Regions from separate parts of the Homo sapiens genome. Here region 1 is linked to region 2. Evidence: promoter capture Hi-C in human tissues and cell types (Jung and others, 2019). All regions are on one chromosome and are shown on one strand. The core of a region is centred on a gene start or on the middle of the fragment in contact, and the rest is flanking DNA. Distances in the headings are between cores, read along the strand shown. Region 1 has its middle 41 kb from the start of UBTD2. Region 2 holds the start of FBXW11 (F-box and WD repeat domain containing 11).

Evidence for each region. The method cuts DNA at HindIII sites, captures the fragments that hold promoters and counts their contacts. A contact is called where the count stands out against the background at its distance.
Region 1: a contact is called between a fragment that was not itself captured here and the fragment with the promoter of FBXW11 in region 2, in 1 of the 25 tissues and cell types used here (adrenal gland).

Annotation. Positions count from the first base shown.
Region 1 is chr5:172,321,932-172,326,865 of GRCh38, reverse strand. It overlaps a transcript of SH3PXD2B not described here. Among named protein-coding and RNA genes, the nearest start is that of UBTD2, 41 kb to the right of the region's middle. The HindIII fragment of the contact is 5,649 bases long and covers 346-4,934 here.
Region 2 is chr5:172,003,655-172,008,183 of GRCh38, reverse strand. It overlaps FBXW11 (F-box and WD repeat domain containing 11), which reads left to right and starts at 1,546. Exons shown (of 14, transcript NM_001378974.1): 1 at 1,546-1,726. The coding sequence starts at 1,682. RefSeq lists enhancers at 1,222-1,491, 1,035-1,662, 2,262-2,381 and silencers at 1,522-1,801, 1,812-1,921. The HindIII fragment of the contact is 22,108 bases long and covers 1-4,529 here.

The DNA.
Region 1 (4,934 bases), core at 1,921-4,420, 320 kb before region 2:
AAAAAAAATCTTGAGACATTTTCATTGCCTAGTACAGGAGTTGGCAAACTTTTTCTTAAAGGGTCAGATAGTAAATATTTGGGGCTTTGCAAACCAAGGGGCAAAACCAGAATGTTACACAAGTATTTACGTAACTATTCAAAATACAACTGTCTGAAAATGTACAAACCATGTGAAAAGAAACATGCGGCTGGATGGGTTAAGCCCAAGGACTACAGAGCTTGACAACCCCTGCCTAGTATATATTTATCTTCTATTTTATTATTTTTCTCAAAATGGACATCTTTCCAAAGTATGTTTATGGAACACCCTCCCTCAACATGATCATGAAAAGCTGTTCTGTGGCTGAATCCACTTGACAAACACTTGTCTGAATATCCTCCAAATCTCCCTCCTTGGAGGGCCACACACCAGCACATTAAAGACTCCGAAGCCTTCAATTAACAAGCTGTTTAACCTAGTTCAATCCAGTTATTTCCAAAATATCTTTGACAACAGAATCCTCTTTTACATGTAACGTTTATGAACATCCCACAGAACACACTTTGGCATGTATGCTGCTGTAGATCCTACATTTTAAGCATTATTCAGAACTTCACTATATTAAATTTAGTTTATTCCTTACAGTGAATAAATATGAGGAATCTGGGTTGGGTGGTGCATGTTAGTTACTATCCTCAGCGGAGTAACCAGGCCGCTATGGTTCAAATGTGTCCCCTCCTAAATTCAGATGTTGCCAATGTGACATTGGCCTTTAAGTATTAAGAGGCAGGGCCGCCAGCCAGGCGCGGTGGCTCACGCCTGTAATCCCAACACTTCGGGAGGCTGAGGCAGGCGGATCACCTGAGGTCGGGAGCTCGAGACCAGCCTGACCAACATGGAGAAACCCTGTCTCTACTAAAAATACAAAATTAGCCAGGTCTGGCGGCATATGCCTGTAATCCCAGCTACTAGGGAGGCTGAGGCAGGAGAATCGCTTGAAACCGGGAGGCGGAGGTTGCGGTGAGCGGAGATCGTGTCATTGCACTTGCACTCCAGCCTGGGCAACAACAGCGAAACGCTGTCTCAAAAAACAAAACAAAACAAAACAAAACAAAACAAAAAACCAGGCAGGGCCTTTAAGCAGTGACTAGGCCAGGAGGGCCCCTCCCTCATGAATGGAATTAGTTGCCCTCGTAAAGGGGCTTGACAGAGGAAGTGTGTTTCAGCTGCTCTTCTGCCCTGCCAGGACACAGCGATCATCCCCCATTTGCCCTTCCGCCTTTCACCACGTGAGGACCCAGCGAGAAGGCCATCACCACATGCCAAGGCCTTGATCATGGTCTTCCTAGACCCTAGAACTGTGAGAAATAAATCCCTGTTCTTTATAAATTACTCAGTCTGCGGTATGCTGTTATAGACAAACAGACAAAGTCCCAGGCCACGTTAGTCTTTCGTTTGGAAAGGACTGAAGATTTGCTGATTTTTCTCCCTGCATTCATCTAGGATCATAAGAATGTTCACTTGGAGAGCCCTGTGGAAGTCCCTCTTAGAAGAATCAAGATGCGGACAGCACTTGGGAAGCACGTGGCAGCTTCCATGGAGATGTGAGAACCACGTCATGTCCTTGCTGCTGTGAACATGAATTTGCTAAACTGCTTTTACTGTATTTTTTTTTGTCGTGGTAAAATATGCGTAATACAAAACTTACCATTTCAGTCATTTTTAGTATATACTTCAGTAGTGTTACGCACACATTGTTGGACAACCACCACCACCATCCATCTTCAGACTTTTTTCATCTTCCCAAAATGAAACTGTGTGCCCATTAAACACTAACCCCACAATTCTCCTCTCCTCTCCCCCCAGCTCCCTGGCAATCGTCATTTTACTTTTTTTTTTTTTTTTGAGATGGAGTTTCGCTCTTGTTGCTCAGGCTGGAGTGCAGTGGTACGATCTCGGCTCACTGCAACCTCCACCTCCCAGGTTCAAGCGATTCTCCTGTCTCAGCCTCCCAAGTTGCTGGGATTACAGGCATGAGCCCCCACACCCGAGTAATTTTGTATTTTTAGTAGAGATGAGGTTTCACCATGTTGACCAGGGTGGTCTCGAACTCCTGACTTCAGATGATTCACCCGCCTCGGCTTCCCAAAATGCTGGGATTACAGGCGTGATCCACCGCGCCCAGCCCATTTTACTTTCTGGCTCTATAAGTTTGACTACTCTAGGTACCTCATATAAGTGTATGTCCTTTTGTGCCTGGCTTATTTCCCTTAGCATAATGTCCTCAAGGTCCATCCATTTTGTAGCATGAGTCAGAATTTCCTTCCTTTTTAAGGCTCAGTAATATTCCATTGTCTCTTTAGACCACTGTGTTAAGCCATTCTTGCCTTGCTATAAAGGAATATGTGAAACTAGGTAATTTATAAAGAAAAGAGGTTTAATTGGCTCACAGTTCTGCAGGCTGTACAGGAAACATGGTGCCAGGCATCTGCTCAGCTTCTGGGGAGGCCTCAGGAAGCTTGCAATCATGGCAGAAGGCAAAGGGGGAGGCGGTGTCTCACATAGCAAAAGCAGGAGCAAGAGAGAGAGTGGGTGGGAGGTGCCACACAGTTTTAAGCAACTAGATCTCATGAGAACTCATTCACTCAACGACAGCACCAAGACATGAGGGATCCTTCCCTTTCTTGCACGTGTCTCTCTTGTCGTTCTGCTTCTGCCACAGGATGATACAGCAAGAAGGCCCTCGCCAGATTCAAGCCCCTTGACCTTGGACTTCCGACCCTCCACGACTGTGAGAAATAAATCCCTATTCTTTATCAATTACCCAGCCTGTGGTATTCTGTTATAGCAACACAAAATGGACTAAGACAACAGTTTTTCAAATTTGAGTTTGTACCCACCCATCTTAAAGATAACAAAATTCTTATAGATTCCCAGTGTTTAGACTTAAATGATTTTAAATTAATGTATATTATATACATAAGCCAGACAGACATAAACATGTTGCCTTGTAGCTACTATGCAAGTAAAAAATGAATACTGGGCCAGGCGCAGTGGCTCACACCTGTAGTCCCAGCACTTTGGGAGGCCGAGGTGGGCAGATCGCCTGAGGTCAGGAGTTCGAAACCAGCCTGGCCAAAATGGTGAAACCCCTTCTCTACTAAAACTACAAAAATTAGCCAGGTGTGGTGGCGCATGCCTGTATCCCCAGCTACTTTGGAAGCTGAGGCAGGAGAATCCCTTAAACCTGGAAGGCGGAGGTTGCAGTGAGCCGAGATGATGCCACTGCACGCCAGCCTGAGAGACAGAGCAAGACTCTGTCTCAAAAAAAAAAAAAAAAAAAAAAAAAAAGAATACTTTCACAGGTTAAACACAAAGCTGACAGAGTTTACCTTAACATTAACAGGAGACCTGATGGCGCTTTTTATTTTTAATTCATACACACACACACACACACACACACACACACACACATATACACACACATACATATACTGATTTTTTTCAGCTTTGCTGAAATTATATCTCCACTCACACGGACAGGATGGAGGCAACCGCATTGGAGTAGATTTTTTGGAATCAATCTGCCTATATATTCTGAGTATTGTGATGACTCATTTTTCTCTAATGGAAATACTGGGAAAACCTTTGTTAAAGCAGCATATCGTGGTGCATTCAACACTCATTTGGCACAAATATATCACTAACATATGACGTCGGACCTGATTCTTTTCTCCTTAGCTAATGAAATTTGAAGTCATAGCCTGAGACCCTAATTCACTTGCCAGCAGAAATCAGTTGTTGGGGCCAACGTTCAGATTCTCCAGAATATACCTATCCATCTTTTACTTATTTTGTTTTTATAAATGTATGAGGTACAAGTGTAATTTTATTACATGGATAAGTTGCATAGTGTTGAATTCAGGGCTTTTACCAATCTGTCTTTTTTAAAATGTCATTGAAATGGAAACTCAGAATTTAAACATTCTCATAGAGAAGGGTTTTTTCCATTTTTTTAAAAATTTATTCTCATAGGGAGGTTTTATATCCAACTTAAGAAACACTATGGGGCAGGCGTGGTGGTGCATGCCTGTAATCAATGGGCACTGAGGCGGGAGGATCGCTTGGGCCCGGGAGTGCCAGGCTGCAGTGAGCTATGATCATGTCACTGCACTTCAGCCTGGGTGACAGAGCGAAGTTCCTTCTCTAAAAAACAGAGAAGGAGAGGGAGAGAGGAAGAAAGGAAGGGTGGGAGGGAGGGAAAGAAGAGAGAAGAAAGAAGAGAGAAAGGAAGGAAGGAAGGAAGAGAGAGAGAGAGAAAGAAAGAAAGAAAAAGAAAGAAAGAGAAAGAAAAAGAAAGAAAGAAAGAAAAAGAAGAAGGAAGGAAGAGAAAGAGAGAAAGAGAAAGAAAGAAGAAGGAAGAGGAGGGGAAGGAAGGAAGGAAGGAAGGAAAGGAAGGAGGAAAAGGAGGGAGGGAGGAAGGAAGGAAGGAGAGAGATAGGGAGGAAGGCAGGGAAATAAAAGAGAGAGAAACTCTGTCATCCTGTTTAATCCTAAACTTTCCTTTAACTCTGCCAGACTCTGGGATGAATAGGCAGGTGCTCTCTGGTTGAAAAATCTCTTTGCCACCAGCCTCCCCACTTCCTGTAGGAGCCTGTCCATGCATGGAGTGTGTCCAGAGCTTTGTGTGTATTCCGGAAGTCATTCAGAAACTGCTGCGATCACCCAGGGACTCACTTTCACACCGGGCTGGCCCCAGGAGCACACAGCAGCAGTGTGTTAAGAGATACCTAAAGCTGCTCGTGGAAAACTTCATTTTTACCCAAAAATTGGCAATAGGAAAAAAAAATGGGGAATAGAGATTTAAGCAATTTAGCCAGTAAGTTATTTTCAATATTTTCATATTAAAACAAACAAGAGTATATTATGCAGTAGAATTCAAACCTCACCTG
Region 2 (4,529 bases), core at 297-2,796:
TGCTGCACTTTTTTTTTTTTTTTTCGTTTTTGAGACAAGGTCTGGCTCTATCACTCAGGGTACAGTGGAGTGGTGCGATCTCCATTCACTGAAACCTCCACTTCCTGGGCTCAAGCGATCGTCCCACCTCTGCCTCCCAAGTAACTGAGATGACAGGCGCGCACCACCAGGCCCGGTTCATTTTTGTATTTTTTGTAGAGAAGAGTTTCGCCATGTTGCCCAGGCTGGTCTGGAACTCCTGCGCTCAAGCAATTCGCCTGCCTCGGTTTACCAAAGTGCTGGGATTACAGGCGTGAGCCACTGCGCCCGGCCAGGCTGCTGTTTCTTTATCTGCACAGCTTTAGCCTCAATCTAGAATTCCCTTCCTCTAGATAAGATGAACTGAGATGCTCAATCATGGAACGACCCTCTCTTCCTGACAGTATCTAATCCAGTGAAGCTCTCACTTCCTTAAACCCTCTCCCAAATCACTAACAACTCTTACCGAGAGGCCCTATCGTTCCTCAATGTGTGTTCTCAGTCACTGCAACTAGTAATAAACCCAGCTTGTTCAACGATCCGTGTCTTCCTGGTGGGATTTGGTTAGAGGGCACGGACAGACCTAAGTTACACAGAGTTGGAGGCTGAGTTCACTAGAAGGAGTCTCCGCTTGTGTGTTCCTTCTTAGCCACTCTTTTGGTTAGTGTCTGTCGTCCCTCCACCAGAATTAAGCTCCATGAGAACAGGAGCCTTGTCTGTCATGTTCAGAGCTGATTCTCAGCGCCTAGAACGGTACGCAGCGGAAGCTGGATGCTTAAAAAATAACCATTTTCTGAACGAATGAATGAGGGGCTCGATATACGCACGTCCCCTTTAATCTCGCAGCTCCTCGCAGATCGTGTGACATACAGACAGCACCACAGCACATTTCCCAAAACCCCGTCTTTCCCGAAGAAATCTCGAAACTCTCACTCCTGGGATGCCCATCCTCTCAGAGCCTCTTCCCCAGGCCGAGCTTCTCTCACTCGCTGGCCCCTTCCCACACCTGAGCCCCAGGTCTATACACCTTCCTAACGCACCTAGAACCCACCTGTCTCCACCATCTGCCCCTACCATCAGACACTGCCGGACGGGCCGCGCAGCTACCTAGGCGTCTAGGGAGCACTGCGGCATGGACCGCGCATGTGCGGAAATGGGTCGCATACGCAGGACCTCCGACAAGTGAGGAGTTGCCTCGGAGTTTCCGTCCCGGTCTGGGCAGCCTTGGGCTGCCAGGAAGTCAAGAGAAGCTAGCCGGAAGGACAACCCGGGCGCACGGCTTTCTGGGACACGTAGTCGTGGCGCTCTCGAGGCCCTGCCATGAGCAAGCTCTTAACTCTTCAGGTCTGCACGTCCTACGCCCACCGTCCAGTGCTACTCTCAGCTCGGAGTTCAGCTTCGGGCTGCCAAGAGCCAGCAACCTGGTGTCAGAGGCTCGGTCCCACAACGCTCTGCGGGCCGCGGCGCCTGCTGGGAGGTGTAGTCCCCGATCTGCGTACTGCGTTCGCCGAGGGGGAGGGCGGAGCTGCCGGCGGCCCGGGCGGGCTGGCAGCTAGAGTGGGTGCGATAGCCGCCTCCGCCTCTGCCGCCTCCGCCGTCGCCTCCTCCGCCCGGGCCGTTCGCTGCTGCGCGGGGAGAGCGAGGCGGGGCCGCCGGGGCCGCCATGGAGCCCGACTCGGTGATTGAGGACAAGACCATCGAGCTCATGGTGAGTGCGGCCCGCTGGACCGTCTGTGCTTCCGTCCGTCCGGCCCCGGGCGGGCCTGCCCACCTCAACGTCCGGTGCGAGGCCGGCTCTGGCCCTTCCCAGACGCCTCGACCCAGACCCGGGCCCCCAGCCTTCCCTGGCCTCGGACCTGGCGCGGGCTCCTCTGATCCCTCGACATCTCCGGCCGGTCCTGGCCCGGCCCCCTCCATGCCCCTCGCTTCTCCCCCTCCCCCTGGTCCCGTCTCCGGTCCCAGCTCTCGGACGACCCTCGCTCGTTTATGCTGTAGACTTAGGTCGCACTCGCTCTAGCACCCCATTCTCCTTCTTTTAGAAAGGGATTTTTTTTTCTTTCCTCTGTTTCGGCCCAGGCCCGCACCGCGCTTGCAAGCCCCACTCAGGCCGAGTGAGATGGTGGGAAGGAGTACGGAGATGGGTTGGGGCCGCCTGGGCCTCCGCGTCCTAGGAGAGGTCTCAGCACCCACTCCCCAGCCTAGGTCTGTGTGGATGCCAGGATAGGCCCTACAGAGCTGGGGGGGCAGGGAGCTTTCGGGTTTGAGGCTGTGGCGGATAAGGAGGCCTCTTTCCCGGGCCCTTGTGGTGTCCGGCTTCTCGGACAAAGGGTTTCCTACCCGGCGGAGAGGGATGTTTGCATAGCAAGGGCCCAGGTACTCTGGATTCCATCCTCCAGGAAAGAGAAGGCGCAACTTCACGTTTTCCAGAGCTGCTTTGGGAAATTGGAGATGACTGGGGAGGGAGCCATCCTCATCACTGCCGCGAGGTCTTTCTTCTCAGAAAGAAAAAAAAAAGAGGGGAATCCTTGGCCCCCGGGGGAAGCGACCACTCTTCTGTTAGAAACCACTGGCAGCCAGGCCAGACTCCCGGTCCGTGGACACCCTCCACCCTCCTCCGAAGCTTTAGGATTTGAAACCAGAAGGGGTTTTTAGGAACAGGACAGTGAGAGAGTGGCTAGAAGTGAAGAATTTGCTAATTGATGGATGATTTGGTGGAAGAAATAAAATATGGCAGATATTACCTGCCAACGTGAACATGAGGGAAATCAAATTGGGCTCTGGAGAGCTGGGAAGAGGAAGTCTGCATCAGCAAATGGACATGTCCAGGATTTCTTCCTATGGAAGCCTTGACAGTTTCTTTGTATCTTTCCTAACACGGTAACAACTTCTTCCCCAGGGTTGAGAGGAGAGGTGGAAGAATCTACTTAACCCAGCAAAATGTTTTCCTAGCCAGATTTTCTTCAGTGTGAAAATGTTTATTGAGTCAGTGATTCCACTGGGTAGGGTTGGTGACATCAGAGCCACTTCCCCCATTTAACGCTATAAATAATAAATGGTGACACTGAAAGTCTGTTGGATAGCTGCATGGTTTCTGTGGATGATGGTGTCTGGGGAGTTGAGATGCTTGTTTTAAAAATGGAAGTACAGTAGCATAAATATGGAGGCAGCTTAATGTTTGCTGTCCTTTGCATAATTCACAGAACTGGACTTCTCTAGCATTCTTGAAAACTAGGAGGGAAAAAAAGAAACTGATAGTTTTTGATTTTTGCATGCGTGTGTGTGTGTGTGTGTGTGTGTGCACGTGGGGTTGTTTTCAAAGGGATGTCACATACTGAGTGATTTTTCCTTTTCAGCATAATTTATCATACTTGTAGTCAAGTGTTTGGTATTCTGTAACTTTTGTAGTGGGTTATTTTGGTAACTATCTTAAATCGACTAAGTATATTACATATTCTTAAGAATGTACACACAGTGCATGTACTTACAACAGAAGTACTTCATATCGAAAAATTGTAACTTGGTGCCTCTTTGAAATTGGCTGTTCCCAGCTCCTTCCATTTCTATTCCTTTAAAAAATAACGAAAATGTATTTATTTTCAAAAGAATTATAAGAAATACGTTGTAACCCAAGTCAGTGTATGGTTACAAAATAAAAAAATAAAAACCTTTGGCCTAAATTCACTGGCTTCCTATGCTTATAACTTAAAAAGTTTTGATTTTACATGATAGCACTTGGTTTTGATCAGAAAAGAGATTTCAGCCTGTTAAGGACATTATAAACTGGGATTTAAACTGGAATTCTTTGAAAATTTAACAGAGTTTAGTTATATTACGATTAATTTTAAAATGGCCTTTTATTTAAGGATTTTGATATTTCCTGAAAGGGATATCAGTTAAGACTCTTAGACAACCCTTATCATAAATTAAATATGTGTATTTATTTTAGTAAAGTAGCACAGGTGCTTAACAACTGATTGAGTAAATCCAGGATCAAATGTAGGAAATAATGCCTTAGAATCTAATTGCATGTGGCTTTCTGTTTTCACTGCATTTCAATTACAGTTTCCAGAACTGGGTTAAAAATATTTTTTACATTGGTTTCAAGATAATACGATTGATGGAGGAAAAGGGGTTAAACTGATGGTGTTTTGAAAGCCTAAAGCATGAAATATTTTTAGATTTTTATGAGTCAGCTTCAGTACTCAAATATTTGTGATTGTGCTGCTTGTACCAGTTTGGCACTTAATGCTTAACAAGATAACTTTCATTTGCTGTTCCAAAGTGTGCTGTATTAAAAAGAGGAAACAGACTTCTTGGTTATCTCCATTTTCTAATCTTCATCCCTGTACTTTCCTTAATATTGATTCTTCTGTTTTTCCTTGCATTTTTGATAAGTATATTAGGAAATAAAGCTGGTGATAGCAGAATAGTTAAATTTCTAAAATATAACCCCCACTTTGACTCCTACCGCTGCCTGAGGCCTGGGTCCACCCAGGTTGCTTCTCCTCCTG